Linked DNA regions of Homo sapiens: regions 2 and 3 are each linked to region 1. Evidence: promoter capture Hi-C in 16 types of primary human blood cells and fetal thymus (Javierre and others, 2016). All regions are on one chromosome and are shown on one strand. Each heading gives the region's core, a stretch centred on a gene start or on the middle of the fragment in contact. The rest is flanking DNA. Distances are from core to core; before and after follow the strand shown.

Evidence for each region. The method cuts DNA at HindIII sites, captures the fragments that hold promoters and counts their contacts. A CHiCAGO score of 5 or more calls a contact.
Region 2: a contact is called between a fragment that was not itself captured here and the fragment with the promoter of COA5 in region 1, in 10 of 17 cell types (erythroblasts, non-activated CD4 T cells, M2 macrophages and 7 more). The highest score is 8.7, in erythroblasts.
Region 3: a fragment that was not itself captured here is called in contact with the fragment with the promoter of COA5 in region 1 in 1 of 17 cell types (megakaryocytes); the score reaches 5.1 in megakaryocytes.

The regions. Positions count from the first base shown.
Region 1 is chr2:98,607,253-98,609,952 of GRCh38, forward strand. COA5 (cytochrome c oxidase assembly factor 5) reads right to left here and starts at 1,260. Exons shown (of 3, transcript NM_001008215.3): 1 at 1,055-1,260. The coding sequence starts at 1,153. UNC50 (unc-50 inner nuclear membrane RNA binding protein) reads left to right here and starts at 1,337. Exons shown (of 6, transcript NM_014044.7): 1 at 1,337-1,474; 2 at 2,504-2,700. The coding sequence starts at 2,508. RefSeq lists an enhancer at 412-1,401 and a silencer at 1,465-1,564. The HindIII fragment of the contact is 2,113 bases long and covers 1-2,032 here.
Region 2 is chr2:99,062,068-99,064,767 of GRCh38, forward strand. The region is part of intron 16 of TSGA10 (testis specific 10); the gene reads right to left. Among named protein-coding and RNA genes, the nearest start is that of C2orf15, 78 kb to the right of the region's middle. The HindIII fragment of the contact is 7,108 bases long and covers 1-2,700 here.
Region 3 is chr2:99,081,877-99,084,588 of GRCh38, forward strand. The region is part of intron 10 of TSGA10 (testis specific 10); the gene reads right to left. Among named protein-coding and RNA genes, the nearest start is that of C2orf15, 58 kb to the right of the region's middle. RefSeq lists an enhancer at 1-681. The HindIII fragment of the contact is 6,735 bases long and covers 1-2,712 here.

The DNA of each region.
Region 1 (2,700 bases), core at 10-2,509:
TTACCAGGAGCTGGCTGAACGGCAGCACCAGTGAGTAAGGGGCAGAAGGGACACAGCCCTGGACAGGGGAGCCTGAAAACAACGGTACTTCAGTTTCCTCATTTATATAAGGAAGTTGGGCGAGATAATCTCTTAAATTTATAATAACTCAAGTTTTACTAGACATTGGGAGGCGAGAATGGCTGACTGCTAAAATCAGTGAACCAAACAAATTGTGACTCGGTAGAAACACTGGTACAGTCTTACAGTGGATGTCCATTTGGGGGTAATCTTTTCTCTGAAATAACAGCAACTTTCTGAAACTACATCCCCCAATGCAAAGACAATTGCACACAATTGAATGCCCTCTCGTCGGGCCTCTGCAATTGGAAAAGGCACTTGTGCTTTACTTGAGCTCTAATCCAGAACTCAGGTCCACTGTGAACCTCACTACATGTTTCAGTGCATTCCAAGAGGGTGCTGAGGAGACCTGTGTCTGTAGCCGGGGAGTGAAGGAAGAGTGTAGGGGAAGCAAGATACGAAATCGTGAAAATATGGAGTTGCCTTATTTTTACAACTTAACATCCAAGAATGCAGAGAACTGTAACTCAGAAACAAATTCACATCAACACAAGTCAAACTGAGCACACATTGTCACAACTGAACAGGCAGGAGACACTACTGGCCAGGGCAGTGTACCAGGTTTACGCAACTCTCTGGAATCATTAATTCTACAGATTATCATTTCTAGGCAGGCAAGAAACCTGGCTTATTCTCCTTTATGTCTCCAAAGCCTAGTAGAGTGCTAGCATTCAATAAAGGCTTCGTGAACTGAAATGGGTTAACCTTTACAAAAACCCGACAGGGTGCGTTTATCGTTATCTCCGATTTAACCCCACAGGGAACTGGGGCTCCGACAGCTCAGTGGATCTGCGCACGTTCAGTGAGCCCGAGCTGTGACCTACGCCCGGGATGGTTAACTCCAACCGCCGCCGCGGGCGACCCGCTGCCCTCCGCCGAGCCAGGCCTGCCTGGGACAGGGGTCGTCACCACCGGGAGCGCCCGGCCGCGCTACCTGGACCACACAGTCCGACTGCAGCAGACACGCGCCCAGGTCCTCCTTCAGGCCCGCGCACGCGCCGCCCTGCGGCTTGTCCTCATAATACTTAGGCATGACGGCGCTTCCCCTCCGATGCGGACGCGACTTTCTCCCACCGCAACACTTGCAACCGGGTCGGGAGCGAGCGAGGCCCCAGTCTCAGGGGACCGGAAGCCAGCGGCAACAACTTCCGGCGGGCCGCGGCGGTAGGGCCGAGGACTACGGGGGCCGAGAGGTGGCGCGTCCGCGGCGGAAGTCGGTTCCCGTGACGCGGCGCGCCCCAAGGGCCGGCTCCGTTGAGGGAAGGGAAGCCCGCCCGGTGGCGGCTGGGGTCGGCTGCTGGGAGGAGGTGGTGGGCTGGTTCGGACGTGGGTCGAGGCTGTAGCAGGACTCCAGGTGAGGCCTGAGGACCACTCTGCCCTCCCGCGGCCCGGGCTCGCGCCGGGGGCCATTTAATCCCGACAGCTTGCGGCCTGACGTCGCTGCGGCCTGGCAGTGACCATGTCGGCGTCCGGCCCCTCGGCCGGCGATAGAGTTGCGGCTAAAATGAAAGGACGCCCAGTTACATTTGCATCGTAGATAAAGAAAGAGCATTTAGTATAAGCATGTCCGAAATGTTGCGTGGGATGTAGGCATACTAAAACCTTATTCGTGGCCTGTCTGAAATCCAAATGGAGCTGGGTATTCTGTGTTTTTATTTGCTAAATCTGGCAGCCGTACCCGCGGCCCCGGGCAGGGAGGGAGCAGCTGGGCTCGGCCAGACCCTGCCGGCGTCTGGGGGGCCTGCGAAGTGGAGGGGAGACGGGCAGCCGGGCAGTGGCCGGCGTTCCCCGGAGCTCGGACCGGTTGGATTGGACTCCGACGCTACCGCTCCCTCTGCTGAACTATTCCGGATGTAAAACACTAGGGATCGGAGTTTTTCTTGGTTTTTTAATCTCATTCTAGTGACCGAGAAGCTTGCTGGCAGTGCGCTGATGGATCTGTGTGAATAGGCCATTTATTTGACCTCTTCAGTAACACTGTTCTAACCGGCTGAAACTGCTTTCTTAGGCATTTTCTTAAAAGCTTGGTGGTTAAGAGCACGGAATTTCGAGTCAGATTTCCAATCTTGGCTCTATCACTATCCTCGGAGTCATGGGGCAGTCACATCATCCCTGTCTCTGTAATGGTAGCTGCCCCTGGATAAGTGTTATTAGGTGATTCAGAAGGGTGGGCTGTTGCCCTTGCCTGAGGTTGCAGTCTGCGGTTCCCAAGCCCCAAGACCCGCCTCAGAACTAACTGCATTTGCTTTTGACTCCTGGCCTTTCTCTAGGGTTGGGAAGAACATGGAAAGTGACCTCCCTGCCAAATAACTCAGAAGAGGAGTGTCGGTAGCCAAATGTTTCTTCAGAATACGTGTAAAAGAAATGTTTTTCTTCCATCTAGGAAGATGTTACCGAGTACTTCAGTGAATTCCTTAGTGCAGGGGAACGGAGTCTTGAATTCCAGGGATGCGGCAAGACACACAGCCGGAGCGAAACGCTACAAATATCTGAGAAGGCTTTTCCGCTTTCGGCAAATGGACTTTGAATTTGCTGCCTGGCAGATGCTCTACCTGTTCACATCCCCACAGAGAGTTTACA
Region 2 (2,700 bases), core at 169-2,668, 450 kb after region 1:
AATAAACAAATCCACAGTTACAGAGGAAGATTTTAACATGTCTTTCAGTATTTGAGAGATCAAGAATACAAATATAGTAAGGATTTATAAGACTTGACTGACACTATTAACAAGCCTAATCTGTAAATATATATAACATACATATATGTGTCCACCAAGAAGTGAGCACAGATGCTTTTCAAGGTCATGTAGAATATTATCAAATATTGATTACATAATCTGCCACTAAGCAATTCTTAGCAGATAACAAAGAATTAATTATCATAAGCCATTTTATCTGATCACAATATTAGAAACATTAGACAATAAGATATTAGACACAACAAAGTAAAAATAGACTAATAACCTCAAGTCCCCTGCACATTGGAAAGTTTTTTAAAACTTCAGGTCAAGTGTGGTGGCTCATGCCTCTAATCCTAGCACTTTGGGAGGTTGAGGTGGGAGGATCACTTGAGGCCAGGAGATCAAGACCAGCTTGGGCAATATAGTAAGACTCCATTGCTACAAAAATATTAAAAATTAGCTGGGTGTGGTGACTCACACTTGTAGTGTTAGCCACTTGGAGGCTGAGACAGATGGATCACCTGTGCCCAGGAATTGGAGGCTGCGGTGAGCTATGATTGTACCACTGCACTCCAGCCTAGGAACAGAGTGAGACTCTGTCTCAAACAAACAGACAAACAAACTTTAGTAATTAAAAATAAATCATAATGAAACGAGATGATATTAAAAACTGAATGGCAATGAAAGGATTATCTCAAAACTTGTGGGCTGCAGGTGGCTGCACCCAAAAAAATAGAAATTTCCAGTCTTCAATGCATAGAAAAGAAATAAAATCATGAAATCTGATACATTTATTCTAAAATTCATCTGAGACAGGTTAATAAGGACCAAGTACAGTCCAGATAATTTGAGGGAACATTAATTCTTCCAGATATCAAGACTCAACATAAAATTATAATAGCTACAAGAGTGTGTTATTGACAAGGGGATAAATTGACCAATGGAGCAGAATGTATGGGAACTTATTTTTATGACAAAGTAGACTTGACTTATATTTCAGAGAAGAAAGGACAACGGATATCTATTCACAAAAATAAAAATTATATGTCTACTTCGAACTGCACAAAATCAATCTCAAGCAGGTTAAAGTCCTAAATGTAAATGGCAAAATTTCACATACTTTCAAACATTTAGAAGAACTTTTAAATGAAAATATAGGAAAATATCTCTCTGGCCTTGGGATTGTATAGGATTTCTTAAAGAAGACATAAAAGTATAAACTATATAGGAAAATATTGATAATAATTCTGAGTATATCAGAACTGAACATGTCTGTTTATACTGCAAGGAAGGTGAAAAGACAAGCCACAGACAAGGACAATATAATTGTAATATCTTTAAGAGGATTATTATCAAGAATACATAGAGAATTCCGTTAAAAATCAATATGAAGGCAGGGTGTGGTGGCTCAGGCCTGTGATCCCAGCACTTTGGGAGGGCAAGGTGGGTGGATCATGAGGTCAAGAGATCGAGAACAGCCTGGCCAACATGGTGAAACCCCATCTCTACTAAATACAAAAAAAAAACTAGTTGGCCAGGGTGGTGCGCACCTGTAGTCCCAGCTACTTGGGAGGTTGAGGCAGGAGAATCACTTGAATCTGGAAAGCGGAGGTTGCAGTGAGCCAAGATCACGCCACTGCACTCCAGCCTGGCGACAGAGCGAGACTCCATCTCAAAAAAATATATATATATGAAAAAGATAAGCTATGCAATAGAAAAATGGCCAAAGTTTACAAAAATTTCATTCAAGAGAAATTCAAGAAAATGTTCATAGAGGAAGAATCCTAAATGGCAAAGAAACATGAAAAGGTCCTCAATTTCACTTGCAATCAAGGAAGCACAAGACAAAAAGTATGGAAAAAATTGTCTGACAATATCAAGTATTGATTCACATTTGAGAAAATAACTCAGGATTTCTTATGGCAGAATGACACTTTAGAGAGCAATTTGACAAAAACTTAGAAGAGCTGAAATTGCACATATCTTGGATCTACTCCAGGCATATAGCTTTTTAAAATTCACTTCCAGGCATAAATATAGGGAAACATGTAGTCAAGGAGAAATGTAAAAGGTTTGTTGCAGTGTTTTATCACAGAAAAAAGTGAAAAAAAATTAACTTTCCTTCAATATGGGAATGAATTTTAAAAAGGGAATATTTATACAATGAATATATGCAACTGTTTGAGTAAAGCAGTACACTATATATATATCAAAATAGATGTGTCAAAATTATAATATTGAGCAAAGAGGGCAAGTTGCAAATGAATATCTCCAACTATGTTTGTTTTCACTTAAATAAAAACCAAAACATACCAAATAACATTATACATTATTTGTGGGTGTAAGATTGTAGAAAAAGTATAAACATATGCAAAGGAGTTAGACACACTGACAGGAAAGTTATGCACACCAGCAACTAGGGAGGTAGGAGGGAAAAGGATGAGAGAAGTTTTATCTGTAATGTTTTATTTCTTTAAACAAGGAGACATTTGAAGCAAACATGGCAAAATGTTAGTATCCTTACATGTGGGAGCTGGGGATATGTTTATCTGTTTTGTTACTTTTGCACTTTTATGGTATGTTTGAAATAGTTTCTAATTTTAACAAATGCTAATGATTGTTCTGGATGTAGGGTAG
Region 3 (2,712 bases), core at 123-2,622, 470 kb after region 1:
GGAAAATAATAACAACTGTAATGCCTAACCTTGTTTTTTACTAACTCTATTTTTAAATTTTCCCTTTTTGTCTCCTTAACTACCTAGCCTTGTTTCCCATATAAATAAGACTCTCCCTTAGCTGGGAAAGCCGGACAAACTCCATTTGGCCCCTTGATTTACAAGACATTAAGGGCTCCTTACCCGACCCCCTTCCTCAAGGAGTTAACCTGTGTAAGCAGACCCTCAGCATTTCAAAGGAGCCAAATTAACTGATAAGGTACTGGAACAAACAATGTGTGAAGTTCCCAGGATTTTGCTCAAAAAGATAACAACATAAAGCCTTGAGTCTGTGTCCAGCATAGCATCCATATCTAACAAAGGATTTAGAGCCCCGCACCTGGTTCCGTTGCTTTTTTTTGTAACCATTTGCCTTTTAAATTGTTAATCTCTCTGTAACCATTTGTTTTTTTGATTCTTGCATGTTTTTACTTCTGTAGAATTATTGCATTTGAGCTCCCCTCCCCTTCCTAAACTAAGGTATAAAGTTAATCAAGCCCCTTCCTCGAGGCTGAGAGAATTTTGAGCGTTAGCCGTCTCTTTGGCCGCCGGCTTAATAAAGGACTCTTAATTCGTCTCAAAGTGTGGCGTTTTCTCTAACTCGCTTGGGTATAACACAACAAAGAGTCTTAATCTCAATCTAAGCATCAAAATAAAATTTGGTTCCCGATTGGTCATATAATCAGGAACCCCTTGCAAAACTCTGGAGGCATGCTCTCAACCCAAGCACAGAACTAACCCCAGACAAAGGCCTATGGAAAAGGATCTCATAATTCAAAATTTAAAAATACATCAAGAAACAATCCAACCTTAGTGGGAGTCAAAAGACACACAAACTAAATTAGATCCCTAAGAACTTCAGACTACAGCACTATCAAATAGAAACTTAGAAATACATGTGTTTAAATACAAACACATAAAATAATAGGATATATAAAGAAAAAAATAATCAACAAATTTGGAAAAGAACCAAATAGAACTTCACAAAATTAAACTAACATCAAAATTTTAAAGATTACAAAACTCAGTGGACAAGTTAAAAATACAGAATAGACACTGTGAAAGAGATAACTGGTAAACTGGGGAAAAAAACAGATCAGAGGTCCTATATTAGAGCACAAATAAAACAATGAAAAAATACAAAATAGAGGTTAACAGACATAAAAGACAGAATAAGAAGGTCCAATATTTACCAAATCAAAATCCCAGTAGGGAAGAATAAAGACAATATTCAACAAAATAATACCTAATAAAAGATGAAATCCAAGACTAAAGAGGTATTAACCTGTATCTATTAAGACAATTATAAATGGGGGAGGATAAAAGGACTTAAAAGGAGACAAGATTTCTATACTTTATGCAAACTGATAAAATGTGACACCAGTGGATCGTGATAAGTAAGTACAATTCACAGAGCAACCACTGAAAAATCTATAGACACTCAAAAATACTACAGATATCAAAAATGGGATTCTAAAAAATGTCAAGTAATCCATGAAAAGGCAGGAAAACAAAAACAGAGACATGAGAAACAGAGGAAAGAAACAAACGAAAAACACCCCCAAAAAATAACATGGAGAATTGAGCCCTACCAATAATTATATTAAATGCATATGGTCTACCTTATTTTTAACAGCCAAAACCTGGAAAAAATCAAAATGTCCCTCACCAGGTGAATAGCTGAACAAATTATGGTACATTCATACTATGGAATGTTACTCAGCAATATTAAAAAGTAGCAAAATTTAATACTTGGCTGGATCTCAATGGCATTATTCTGAGTTTTCAAGCGAATCTTGAAAATCATGGCTGTATGACTCTTCCTATAACATTCTTGAAATGACAAAATTACAGAGTTGGACAACAGATTAGTGTCAGATATTAGGGATCATGGTGGGGGAAGAGGAGATGTGACTGTAAAGGAGTAGCATGAGGGATATTTTTGCGGTAATAGACTTTCCGTGTCTTGAATGTGGTAGTAGTTACATGAAACTACATATGTGATAAAATGACAGAACTATGCACACACATTGTACCAATGTCAATTTTCTGGCTTTGATATTGTACTATAGTGATATAAAATGTAATCATTGTGGGAAAGTGGGTGACGGGAATACATCGACTTATCTGTATATTTTTGTAACTTCCTACAAATTATGAAATTATTTTAAAGCAGCAAAACAAAAAAAAGTCCTAGAGTTAGGCTGCACAATTATGCCAATTAAATTAAAATCTCTGGGAATGAGAATTAACATCACTATTGTTTTTTAAAGCTCCTCATTTGATTCTAATATGCAGCCAAGGCTGTTAAGGAATGCATCTGATATGGTTTGGATGTTTGTCCGCTACAAATCTCATGTTGAAATGTGATTTCCAATGTTGGAAGTGGGGCCTGGGGAAGAGATGACTGGATCACGGGGGCAGGTCCCTCATGAATGGTTTAACACTATCCCCTTGGTGATAAGTGAGATCTCGCTAGTTAGTTCACATGAGATCTGGCTGTTCAAAGAAATCTGGGACCTCCCCTTTTCTCTTGCTCCTGCCCTTGTCATGTGATGCACTGGCTCCCCCTTTGCTTTCCACCAAGATGGCAAGCTGTCTCGTGCCCTCACCAGAAGCAAATGCCAGCACCATGCTTCCTGTACAGCCTGCAGAACCATAAGCTAAAATAAA